Linked DNA regions of Homo sapiens: all the other regions are linked to region 1. Evidence: promoter capture Hi-C in human tissues and cell types (Jung and others, 2019). All regions are on one chromosome and are shown on one strand. The core of a region is centred on a gene start or on the middle of the fragment in contact, and the rest is flanking DNA. Distances in the headings are between cores, read along the strand shown. Region 1 holds the start of PTGDR (prostaglandin D2 receptor). Region 2 overlaps TXNDC16 (thioredoxin domain containing 16). Region 3 overlaps TXNDC16 (thioredoxin domain containing 16).

Evidence for each region. The method cuts DNA at HindIII sites, captures the fragments that hold promoters and counts their contacts. A contact is called where the count stands out against the background at its distance.
Region 2: a fragment that was not itself captured here is called in contact with the fragment with the promoter of PTGDR in region 1 in 1 of the 25 tissues and cell types used here (mesenchymal stem cells).
Region 3: a fragment that was not itself captured here is called in contact with the fragment with the promoter of PTGDR in region 1 in 3 of the 25 tissues and cell types used here (IMR-90 fibroblasts, lymphoblastoid cells and mesendoderm cells).

The regions. Positions count from the first base shown.
Region 1 is chr14:52,265,673-52,270,052 of GRCh38, forward strand. It overlaps PTGDR (prostaglandin D2 receptor), which reads left to right and starts at 2,026. Exons shown (of 2, transcript NM_000953.3): 1 at 2,026-2,988. The coding sequence starts at 2,143. The HindIII fragment of the contact is 10,952 bases long and covers 1-4,380 here.
Region 2 is chr14:52,498,258-52,502,637 of GRCh38, forward strand. All of the region lies in intron 9 of TXNDC16 (thioredoxin domain containing 16), which reads right to left. Among named protein-coding and RNA genes, the nearest start is that of TXNDC16, 52 kb to the right of the region's middle. The HindIII fragment of the contact is 3,404 bases long and covers 83-3,486 here.
Region 3 is chr14:52,466,544-52,470,923 of GRCh38, forward strand. It overlaps TXNDC16 (thioredoxin domain containing 16), which reads right to left. Exons shown (of 21, transcript NM_020784.3): 15 at 3,969-4,137; 16 at 3,494-3,630. Among named protein-coding and RNA genes, the nearest start is that of TXNDC16, 84 kb to the right of the region's middle. The HindIII fragment of the contact is 7,192 bases long and covers 1-4,380 here.

The DNA.
Region 1 (4,380 bases), core at 776-3,275:
GAAGGATTCTTAAGCTAGTGTCCATTGGGTCTCCTCTGGGTACCATAGAAGGGCTTCAGGAAATGGTGAACAGCCTGAGATTGATGTAAAGTGTGTGTGTGTGTGTCTGCGTGTGTGTCTGTGTGTGTGTGCCTGTGTGTGTGTGTGTGTCTGTCTGTCTATGGAGGAGACCACAGCTTTCATCAAATTCTCATGTCTTTTGGTTATGGGGCCTGCTCTTCCTTTCACTTCATTAAGTCGAGTGGGGCTCTTCTAAACCCATTCTTATGTGCTAGGGGCTAGAGATGGGAATGAGAGAGAGTAGGTAGAAGACAAGGGAACTAACTCTATACAAGGCCTTCTATTGAGTCAATATAAGTGAAAGGCTTAGAGAGTGTCCAACCTGCATCAGGACCAATAAATATTAGCTCTTATTATTATTATTACACTATGCCAAAGCACTTCAAGTTTTCTCAACCTCACAACAACCCCACAAGTTCAGCATAAGTCTCATATTCCATTAGGTTGAACAACTAACCCAGGGTCACACAGCCAGTGGTGGAGTTCAGAACTATCTAATTCCAAGCTTAGATTCTTCTTTTCCACCCTGTGGCCTGAATTACTGGCCAGACTTTCAGTCTGGAGGCAGCCTCTCTGTCTACCCTTCAGGCTTTCACATCTAAATCCCAAGGGTCTTGCTCTTTCCCTGAGTCTGTCCATCAGAACTGGCATGAGGCCTAAAAATGAGCCGTTTCAAGCCCAGGCATCATCTACTCACTTACATAACAAAACCTTAGTCATCCCACTGAGATTCCACACTCAAAGCCAATTTCTCTCACAGGGCATCGAATGCTAGTTAAAGATATAAAATCACGCTTATCACAATTAACTCCCTTGCCTTTATGATGCAGCCAAGTCAAAGCCCAAACAGGAATAAATTTTTTCTAGTAGCCACAAATCAGAGGAGTGAGAAAGCTCTATGCCAAATCTACCATTTTCTGATTTCAAAATCCATGCTAAAAACTGCAGTTAAACATCAGCTACCAAAACACCCTTCTATCAAATAAGAATCATGGTGATTGCATGAATTGAGCACTTTCTATGTACTTGCTCTTTACGTGTTATTTCTATGCCTCAGAAGAGCCAAGCAGGCCAGATAGATGTTACTGCTTGAGAGGCTAAGCAAGTCCCATAAGGTCACACACACAGTGAGGAGCAGAACCTGGACTCAAACCCAGGCCTATCTGATGACAGCAACAGTGCTGCTAACCATGCCCTTCCCCCCAGCTCTCTACAGTCAATGTGATTCATGGCACCCAGGACCAACACCGGCTCTTGGCTTTCCCACAAACCACTTCCCTGAAATCTGGACAACTTCTTGGGAGGAGGAGTCATGGGAACAGGACAGATGAACTCCAAAATAGAAGATCGGGTGAGAGGTCCGGCTCTGCTACTTCTGTAGCTCTGTCACCACGGGCAGATCACTTAACTTTCCAAGGCCTCAGTTTCCTCGCCTATGCAATGGAGATGACCGTGAATGCCCCAAATTGCGCTGATCTAGTAGAGAAGAGGAGCTAAGGCTCAGGGGCTTTCCAGACGTGAGTTATCTTTACCTTTCCTTGACTAGCTAATTCAAGACAACTAGGTAGAAGCCCTTTCTCAGCCTCCCCTCTTCGCTCATCTTTCGAGTTCTTGGCCACCCCAGTTCAAACACCAGCACCATTGCCCTCCTCTCAGGTGGCTGCTGCTTAATTTCCCCTCCACTTTAGTAGTTCTTCTCTTGCCTCGCTAGAAGGACTGGTGTTGGGTGCTTGGAATTCTGGCTATTTTCCTCCTGCCGTTCCGACTCGGCACCAGAGTCTGTCTCTACTGAGAACGCAGCGCGTCAGGGCCGAGCTCTTCACTGGCCTGCTCCGCGCTCTTCAATGCCAGCGCCAGGCGCTCACCCTGCAGAGCGTCCCGCCTCTCAAAGAGGGGTGTGACCCGCGAGTTTAGATAGGAGGTTCCTGCCGTGGGGAACACCCCGCCGCCCTCGGAGCTTTTTCTGTGGCGCAGCTTCTCCGCCCGAGCCGCGCGCGGAGCTGCCGGGGGCTCCTTAGCACCCGGGCGCCGGGGCCCTCGCCCTTCCGCAGCCTTCACTCCAGCCCTCTGCTCCCGCACGCCATGAAGTCGCCGTTCTACCGCTGCCAGAACACCACCTCTGTGGAAAAAGGCAACTCGGCGGTGATGGGCGGGGTGCTCTTCAGCACCGGCCTCCTGGGCAACCTGCTGGCCCTGGGGCTGCTGGCGCGCTCGGGGCTGGGGTGGTGCTCGCGGCGTCCACTGCGCCCGCTGCCCTCGGTCTTCTACATGCTGGTGTGTGGCCTGACGGTCACCGACTTGCTGGGCAAGTGCCTCCTAAGCCCGGTGGTGCTGGCTGCCTACGCTCAGAACCGGAGTCTGCGGGTGCTTGCGCCCGCATTGGACAACTCGTTGTGCCAAGCCTTCGCCTTCTTCATGTCCTTCTTTGGGCTCTCCTCGACACTGCAACTCCTGGCCATGGCACTGGAGTGCTGGCTCTCCCTAGGGCACCCTTTCTTCTACCGACGGCACATCACCCTGCGCCTGGGCGCACTGGTGGCCCCGGTGGTGAGCGCCTTCTCCCTGGCTTTCTGCGCGCTACCTTTCATGGGCTTCGGGAAGTTCGTGCAGTACTGCCCCGGCACCTGGTGCTTTATCCAGATGGTCCACGAGGAGGGCTCGCTGTCGGTGCTGGGGTACTCTGTGCTCTACTCCAGCCTCATGGCGCTGCTGGTCCTCGCCACCGTGCTGTGCAACCTCGGCGCCATGCGCAACCTCTATGCGATGCACCGGCGGCTGCAGCGGCACCCGCGCTCCTGCACCAGGGACTGTGCCGAGCCGCGCGCGGACGGGAGGGAAGCGTCCCCTCAGCCCCTGGAGGAGCTGGATCACCTCCTGCTGCTGGCGCTGATGACCGTGCTCTTCACTATGTGTTCTCTGCCCGTAATTGTGAGTCCCCGGGCCCCGAGGCAGCAGGGCACTGAGACTGTCCGGCCGCGGATGCGGGGCGGGAAGGGTGGAGCGGATCGGGATGGACGCGGCGCCAGGCGAGCTGCGCCCTGGGCCAGGAAGGTTTGCTGCTGAGTTCCCCAAATTGGATTCCTTCCACAGCCCCGAGATATAACTCAGTTTGCGGAGCGAAATGAGGGAAAGTTAGAGAAAGGAAGGGAAAGGCTGAGCCCGGCGGTGTCTCCCTAGCCCAGCAAAACCCTCTCCATGTGGCAGAACTCCCTCCTCTCTGCTTCCTTCTGGGGAGATCTCGAGGTCATTTTTGCGCCTTAGGAGGAGCAGAACTTAGTTTCTCCTTGGCAACAGGAGTCTTCTACTTCCCGACGGCTGGGTGATGTTTTATTTTGTTAGACCTGCTCATGACTTCAGTGGTATCAGAAATGGGCGAATGGCGTCTGGGACGATCTTCTCCCCGGTGTTGGCATAGAAAGGGAAAAAGAGGTTTAAGCCAGCCAGAGTGATTTGCAGATGCATAGTTTTAATTTTGAAAAACGCGTGCGTAAACTTTGAGACGCCACGGCTGCTGTTTCTGGTGCTGCATCCGCCAGGGATTGTGGCGATGGAGGCCGAGGCTCTTTGTATGTTTTAGCTGCTGGTGTCGTTTTGACAACCTGACTTGACGGGTTTTGAGTGTATCTTGGCAAGTGAGGTGACATGAAAGCCATTATCTCCGGTTTCAATTTGGTAATGAGGATAGCGATGGAAATGAAATTATCTCCTCATTTTGAAGGCATTTGTTCCTGGAGTCCCCGCCAAGACACCTGGGAGTAGGTGAGGCTTGAGGAAACATTTTCAGTGCTGCTCCTCTCCTTTCTCCCAAGGTACCTGTTCAACAAAAACAATACTTACAGAAATTCCATTGCCAATCCCACGTTCTCGAAATCCTGAGACTTCTGTGAATAGGAAAGTTGTTAAATTTCTTCTCAGAATGTAGCCATTTTGGATATTACTTTCAATGGTGAATGAAAGGGAAATACAAAGCGATTTTCCTTTAAATGAAGGCCTTACTGCTTGCGGAAAAAGAAGTCTGGGGCATCAGCATGCAGGGGTGGGAACAGTATGCCCCCAAAATAAATAAACAAATACATAAATCTATATCTATCTAAATGTAGATATAGGCGCAGATGACATATAGCAGTGGTCTTCAGAATCACCAGCTCAGAATCACCAGCAAGGCTTCTAGAAAAAAAGATGGCTGGACCCCATTCCCCAGAGTTTCTAATTCAGACATTTTTAAAGAATTTTCATTCTTAACAAGTTCCCAGGTGATATGCAAGCTCAGATTCAGGGTTCACATTTGTAGAATCACACTCTAAAACAGGAGTTAGCAAA
Region 2 (4,380 bases), core at 535-3,034, 230 kb after region 1:
TGACACTTTTATTCAACATAGAACTGAAAGTCCTAGCCACACCAATTAGGTAAGGAAAACAAATAAATGCATCAAAATTGGAAAAGAAGAAGTAAAATTATCTCTGTTCACAGGTAATAGGATCTTATATGTGCAAAACCCTAAAGATCACACACACACACACACACACACACACACACACTCACACACACCAGAAAACCATAAGAACCATTTTGCAGGATACAAAATCAGCATACAAAAATCAGTTGCATTTCTATACACTAATAATGAGCAATCCAAAAATAAAATTAAGAAAATAATCCCATTTACAATAGCATTGAAAAAGAATAAAATACTTTGGAATAAATTGAACAAAGGAGGTAAAAGACCCTTATACTGAAAACTACAAAACATTGCTGAGAGAAAATTTAAAAGACATAAATAAATGGAAAGACATTCTGTGTTCATGGATTAGAAGACTTAATAATATTATTAAAATGTCTATACTACCCAAAGCAATCTACAGATTCAATGCAATCCCTATTAAAATCCCAATGGTATTTTTTGCAGAAATAGAAAAAAAATCCTAAAATTCATATGGAATCTCAAGGGATTTCAGATAGCCCAGACAATCTTGAGAAAGAAGTACAAAGCTAGAGGCCTCACACTTTCTGATTTCAAAATATATTACAAAGCTACAGTAATCAAAATAGCCTAGTACTGGCATAAAAACAGACACATAGACCAATGGAACAAAATAGAGAGCCCACAAATAAACCTTCATGTATATGTTCAAATGATCTTTGACAAGGATGTCAAAACCACTCAGTAAAGAAAGGACAGTCTCTTCAATAGATGGTGCTGGGAAAACTGGATATCCACATGCAAAAGAATGAAAATGGACCCTTATCTCACAGCATATACAAAAGTTAACTCATAATGGATTAAATACCTAAACATAAGACCTGAAAGTAAAACTCCTAAAAGAAAACATAGGGGGAAAAGTTTCATGACATTGAAATGGGCAACAATTTCTTGGATATGACAACAAAAGCACAAACAACAAAAGCAAAAATAGACAAACTAAAACTTCTAATAGAGTAAAAAGACAACTGAATGAGAGAAAATGTCTGCAAAACATATATGAGATAAAGAGTTAACATACAGAACATACAGAGAACCCCCATAATTCAATAACAAAACAAATAACTCAATTTTTTAAATGGACAAAAGACTTGAATAGACATTTTTCCAAAGAAGATACACAAATGGCCAAGCATATGAGACGATACTCAACATCACTAATCATCGGGAAAATAAAACTCGAAACCACCATGAGGTATCATCTCATATCCTTTAAAATGGCCACTATCAAAAAAAAAAAAAGAAAAGAAAGAAAAGAATGACAAACGTTGGTGAAGATATGAAGAAATGAACCCTTGTGCACTGTTGGTGAGACTGTAAAATGGTGCAGGCACTATGAAAACAGTACAGTCATCCCTCAGTATCCATAAGGAATCAGTTTCTCTACACCCCTTAAATATACCAAAATCCATAAATGTTCAAGTTCTTTATATAAAAGTCATAGTATTTGCATATACCTACACGCTCCATCTTGTATACCTTAAAATCATCTCTAGATTATTTATAATATCAAATACAATGTAAATACTATGTAAATAGTTGTTATACCATAATTTAATTTTGTATTATTTTTATTGTTATATTTTTATTTTTATTGGGTTTTAATTATTTTTCATCTGCAGTTGGTTTAATCCAAGGATGCAGAATCCACAGATACAGAGGGCTGAGTATATGGAGGTTCTTCAAAAATTAAAAATGAAACTACCATATGATCCAGCAATCCCACTTCTGGGTATATTTTCAAAAGAATGAGAAAAAAGATCTCAGAGAATACCCATGTCCATTGCAGCATTACTCACCATAGCCAAGAGGTGGAAGCAACCTAAACGTCTATCAATGGATGAATGGATAAATAAAATGCGGTATATACGTCCAACGGAATATTATTCAGCCTTAAAAAAGAATAAAATCCTGACATACACTACAACATGGATGAACCTTGAGGACATTATTCTAAGTGAAATAAGCCAACTGCAAAAACAAATATGGCATAACTCAGTGTATATGTGGTATCTACAGTAATCAAACTCATACGAATGGAAAGTAGACTGGTGGTGTCAAGGACTGCGGTCAGGTAGAGGGGAGATGTGAAGTTGTGTGTTCAATGAGTATAGAGTTTCAGTCGTGCAATATGACAAAGTTCCAGAGACCTGCTGTACAACAACGTACATCAGCTAATACTGTATTATACACTTTCAAATTGTGATGAGGGTAATCTTACACGGTTTTTACAACAATGGAAAAAAAGTCTCTAAAATAACCATGTTAGGAAACACTATGCTGCACAATATTGCACACTGCCACATAAGTTCTCTAGAAATAGGAGCTAAATGAATAAATCATAACAGCATCTTTCTAATTTCCTATATAAAAGAGTAGGTTTAACTTAATTCAAGTGTCTTGAATCTGAGACAGACAGCTAGATGAACAAACAAAAAATAATGTAAAAATTTCAGAAATTATTAAAAATGTATAAACTTACCCATCTTTTAACATTTTATTAGATATTTGCACTTGAGAATTCAGATTCTCAATTGGGATTCAGATAAAAGCTTTCCTTCTATCTACAAATATAAACTGAATCCATCATGGAGAAAATCATCAGCATTCTAAAATGTCCTTGGTATTTGCCAACAGGACAATAATTGAACCATTTTCCCATCTGTGTTCACTGTTGGGAACCTTAATAATACATCTAAAACAACTCCATATCTGGCAGAATCTTACTTAACCTATTTAAGATTGAAATTCACTTAAAAATTCTATACTCAAGATTTATTTTCAGTTTGACATGATCAAAATGACACACCTCCCATCGTGAGTATAAGACATAGTTGTGTTATATATCTACAATTAGGTGTCCAAGTACCCTGTTTACCTAAAAGAAAAAAAAAGCAATAAACACACATACAAAAGCAATCTGCATCTATTTTCATATGCTTAGAAGTGAACTAATAATACATATAATTGCAATGATCAGACACAATGCCGTTTACAAAAAAGCCTGAATCCTACTTTCCATTTTTATTAGTTTATAAAAAGACTTTGTAAACATACCAAATTATTTCAGATCCTGAACCCAGAAACCCAGGCTAATTTGCAAAGCATCTTACCAAACACACAAAACCCAACCATGATTAAACCCCAAGGGCTTGTATATAGAATAATGTCTAAGATAACAGGGGGAATGAGCTTCAGTAGTACTATGAGAGAATAAGAATAAAGCAAGAAACATGAATTCAAAGTCCTATGAAGTCGGCTACTAATAAGAACCTGTAAGAAGTCAACAAATTTAGGTACCACCTTTTGGGACCTCTCTATCTCATTCCAGTTAACTATACCATCAAAGGGTATAACCCGTTAGAACAAATTTTGGTCTAAGAGGTGTTTCCTATAAAAGTGTTTGGCGTGACTCAGTTTTTTTAACCTCAAATGTATTATTTAAGAACAAAAAACAACCTCAAATACTGATATGGTCAAATGTTTAAAGAAATAAAACATAAAAGTGACCAAACCAGCTGAGGATTCTAACATCTTCCTAATTCCACCGGGGTAAGCCTTAGCCACCCGCCAATAGTCTCAAGGAATCTTTCGAGGCTTTGTCTCCTTTTCTGTACTCTGCATTCATTTTCTCTGTTCTGGTCTATGAAAGTCCACGAATCTGTGCTTCTAGGCCTCACTCTGCCAAGTATTCCTAGGCTGACATCAAGGTTTGAATTCTCAGCTTAGCTTTCCAATTTGGCTCTGATCTTCAATTCAGCCTTTCAGATCTTTCTTGGTTTTATGCTACTGGTCATTCCTACCTATTTCAGTGTCTACCGGGGCTTCTGGAGCCTCTGCCTGAATCCTATATCCAAGTTCCCTAGTTGTCTAGGAAAAAAAAGTTCAAACAAATAAAACGCTTATGCATTATTCTGTGAAAGTGTTGAAGCAAAACCTACTCCAGACTTTGATTAACAATTTAATATTCCTTTTGAGTGAACAGTGGTTAGAGCAGGGTCACCTGCATGGCACAACTCTACAAAGTACCATTGACATTGTATTTTATAAAACGTGTATTTCAAGGGGCTGTTGTTCCTACAGAATACAATATAAATGATGCCCTTAATTTTTTGCCATGTTATGCTTTCAGGTAAAACCACACTTAACTGAAGTCATTATGAAGTTTCCAAAGCTTTGGTTTTTTAATTTCAAAACTAATACTACAGGGGGGTGGAGCCAAGATGGCCAAATAGGAACAGCTCCAGTCTACAGCTC
Region 3 (4,380 bases), core at 1,410-3,909, 200 kb after region 1:
CAAAAGAAGCAGACACCATATTTTAAAAAATAAAGAAAAATGGCCAGGCGCGGTGGCTCATGCCTGTAATCCCAGCACTTTGGGAGGCCGAGATAGGCGGATCACAAGGTCAGGAGATGGAAACCATCCTGGCTAATGCGTTAAAACCCCGTCTCTATTAAAAATATAAAAAAATTAGCGGGGCATGGTGGCAGGCTCCTGTAGTCCCAGCTACTCGGGAGGCTGAGGCAGGAGAATGGCGTGAACCCGGGAGGCGGAGCTTGCAGTGAGCCGAGATCACGCCACTGCACTCCAGCCTGGGTGACAGAGCAAGACTCCATCTCAAAAAATAATAATAATAAAAAATAAAGAAAAACAATAATGAAGCATAAAACAAGCAGCAGATATCCAAATCAGTTAAGAGAATAAGTATAAATTACTAATGTTCACCTAGTAGAGTCAATAGAAAAAAAAACAAGAAAATATTTAAAAAGACAGATCAGAGACTTGACTCTATATTCAACATGTATTATAAAACTAATAGACTAAGTATCAATAGGTAAAGTGAATAAAATAGAAAACAATTAAACAGACATATATCACACACACACACATATAGATAAGGACAACATGGTGCTGGTGAAATCACATATAGAGGAGAAAAAAAGGATAAACGTTAACTATTAGAAAAAAAATTAAGTTGGCACCAACACTCATCCCATGCACTAAAATATCTAAAGGGTTAAAAACTTTTAAAAAAGGGAAAAAAATCACAATCAACAGAGTAAAAAAGCAATCTATGGAATGAGAGAAAATATTTACAAATCAAATCTTTGATAAAGGATAATATCCAGAATATATAAAGAATTTCTGCAACAAAAATATAAATAACCCAATTTAAAAACAGGCAAAGGAGTTACAGACATTTCTCCAAAGAATATATACAAATGACCAAGAAGCATAATGAAAAGATGCTCAGCATCACTAATCGTCTGGGAAATGCAAATCAAAGCCACAACAAGATATCACCTCACACCCATTAAGATGGCTATCATAAAAAATAAAATAAAATAACGAATATTGGCAAGGATGTTAAAGTCATTGGAACCCCTGTACACTGTTGGTAGGAATGTAAAATGATGCAGCCAGGGCGGAAAATAGTACTGCGGTTCCTCAAAAACTAAAAACAGAATTACCATATGACCCAGCAATTCCACTTCTCAGTATGTACTCAAAATAATTGAAAGCAGAGTACCAGAGAGATATTTCCATACCCATGTTCACAACCGCGTTATTCACAACAGCCAAGAGGTAGAAGTAACCCAAAAATTCATTAATGGATAAACAGATAAACAAAATAAGATATATACATACAATGGAATACTATTCGGCCTAAATTGGAAGGAAATTCTGACACACACTACAATATAGATGAACCCTGAAGACATTATGCTAAGTGAAATAAGTCAGTCAGAAAAAGATAAATACTGTATGATTCCACCTGTATGAGGTACATAGAGTAGCCAGACTCATATAAACAGAAAGTAGAGTGGTGGTTACCAGGGCCTGGGAGGAGGATGAAATGAAAAGCTGTTGTTTAATGAGTACAGAGTTTCAGTTTTGCAAGATGAAAATGTTCTGGAGATTAGTTGTACAACAATGTGAATATACTTAATACTTGTAAAACATACACTTAAAAATGGGTAAGATGGTAAATTTTACGTTATGTGTATGTTATCAAAATTTTTTTAAAAGAAAAAATATACAAAGCAAGACAAATTAAAATAGGAAAATATTGTAAATTAAAGCAAGAAAAAATACAGGTGAATATTAGGTGACAAAAATGATAGGGTTTTTTATAGCTAAAAGCAATAGAAGAAATCTTAAAATCAATAGATTAAAAAAATTTTAAACTGTGATATACAAAATTATCATTAAACAAAGCTAAAGAGCAAATAACAGACTGAGGGAAAATAACTGAAACAAAATGACAAAAGCTTAATATCCTTAATATACAAAGGTCTCACACCAATTCATTAGACAAACAGTAAAACTCCATTTTAAAAAGTGAGTGGGCAAGTACAGTGGCTCATGCCTATACTACCAGCACTTTGGGAGGCCAGGGCAGGAAAACTGCTTGAGCCCAGGAGTTTGAGACCAGCCTGGGCAACACAGGGAGACCTCATCTCTATGAAAAATTAAAAAATTAGTGGGCATGGTGGCACATGTCTATAATCCTAGCTACTCAGGAGGCTGAGGTGGGAGGCTCACTTAAGCCCAGGAGGTTGAGTGTGCAGTGAGCTGTGATTGTGTCACTGTACTCCAACCTGGGCAATAGGGCGAGACCCTGTCTCAAAAAAAAAAACAAAAAACCATGAGTAATGTATATAACCTACAATTTATAGAAGACATACGTTATTCTATTGGGAACCTAAACTCATTATATGGTCTAAAATCCATACAAAGACTCAAAAATATTCTTCACATACAGAAGGAAAAAAAAAGGAAACAGTACAAATATTGTTCATAAATAGTTAAATAAGGCCAGGTGTGGTGGCTCACATCTGTAATCCCAACACTTCGGCAGGCCAAGATGGGTGGATCACTTGAGCTCAGAAGTTCAAGACCAGCCTGGGCAACATGGTGAAATCCTGTCTCTACAAAAACACAAAAAATTAGCTGGGCATGGTGGCACATGTCTGTGGTCCCAGTTACTCAGGAGGTTGAGATGGGAGGATTGCTTGAGCCCAGGAAGCAGAGATTGCAGTGAGCCGAGATCATGCCATTGCACTCCAGCCTAGGTGACAGAGCAAGATCTCGTCTCAAAAAAAAAAACAAAAAACAAATTTAAATACATTTTGATATATATATTCACCAAATATTATGTAGCCATAATGTTCATGAAGAATATCAATACATCATTGTAATGTTAAATAAAAACAAGATTCTGGCTAGGTGCGGTGGCTCACCCCAGCACTTTGGGAGGCCAAGGCAGGCGGATCATGAGGTCAAGAGATGGAGACCATCCTGGCCAACATGGTGAAACCCCGTCTCTACTAAACACACAAAAATTAGCTGGGCATGGTGGCATGTGCCTGTAGTCCCAGCTACTCAGGAGGCTGAGGCAGGAGAATCACTTGAACCCAGGAGGCAGAGGTTGCAGTGAGCCGACATCACGCCACTGCACTCCAGCTTGGTGACAGAGCGAGACTCTGTCTCAAAAAAACAAAACAAACAAAAAAAACGCAAGATTCTAACCTAGATACACAGTTTTAGCCCAATTATGTTAAAACATACATAAATATGCAATCTGTAGGTACACAGAAAAAAGATGGAAGAAATTACATCAAAATTTAACACTATCTCTGAATAATTAGCTTACGATATTTTATTTTTCTTCAAACTTCTCCATAATTTTGAAATTCTCTATAATTTAAAAAGATATTCTTAAAAAATAAAACTAGCAAGCAATGATATACTCTACTGTATAATTTAAAAGCTCAGCTCTGCTTACCTGTTTTCATGGTTGGACTAAATAGTCCCAATACTGACACACTAGAATACAAGATGAGGTCTTTATATAATTCCCCACTTAAATATTCTTCTGCTTCTTGGATCGATGTTATATTCACTGGATATGAAATCCTGTTGCTGGATAAACATATAACTATATTACAAATTAATTTTTTAAGATATTTTCAGTTTGTAAAAAAAAAGCATACTAAACATAGCAAACAATATATTACATAGGATAATATCTTACAAAATATAGAAAATTAAATATTATTCTTAAAGAAAATCAGACTCATTAAACAAAATTGCTATCTCCCGAAAAGTGTTGAAATGTACACAGACTTTCATAAATATTCATTTTGTGATCTCAATTCTAGTATCTTCCTTAACCTATTTTAAGTGTTAGCAAAGTCTGAGAATTAGAACTTCTAAAGACCTAAACATTCAGAGATCTTATAATGAAGCTGAATACTTACAGCTGGATAAATTTTAGGAGATCTTCGGTTCCTAACATTCCAGCATAAGATACTGGGTTCTCGCCTTTCTTGTACATCTTTATGATAGGAAATTCAGTAACATTTTGCTTAGTACATACATCAGACCAATCTGCACAGTTTATTCTAGTAAGAAGCATAGTAGATGTGCCTAAATAAAAGGAAAATGCACATTTGTAATTACTAATTGTAGAAAATGCATTTGCTTAGGATCTTCAGTATTTTTCTATCCCATTCTTATTTTAACCTCTCAGCATGAAACACTCCTGCTTAAACACTCTCTTCCCTTGATCTTTGCAACACCATTCCCTGTTGGCCTTTTCCCTTCCTTTCTAGCTTCTCCTTTTTGTTCCCTTTTGCAGGCTCTTCAGCCAGTAGAGTTGGAGGTCCCTCA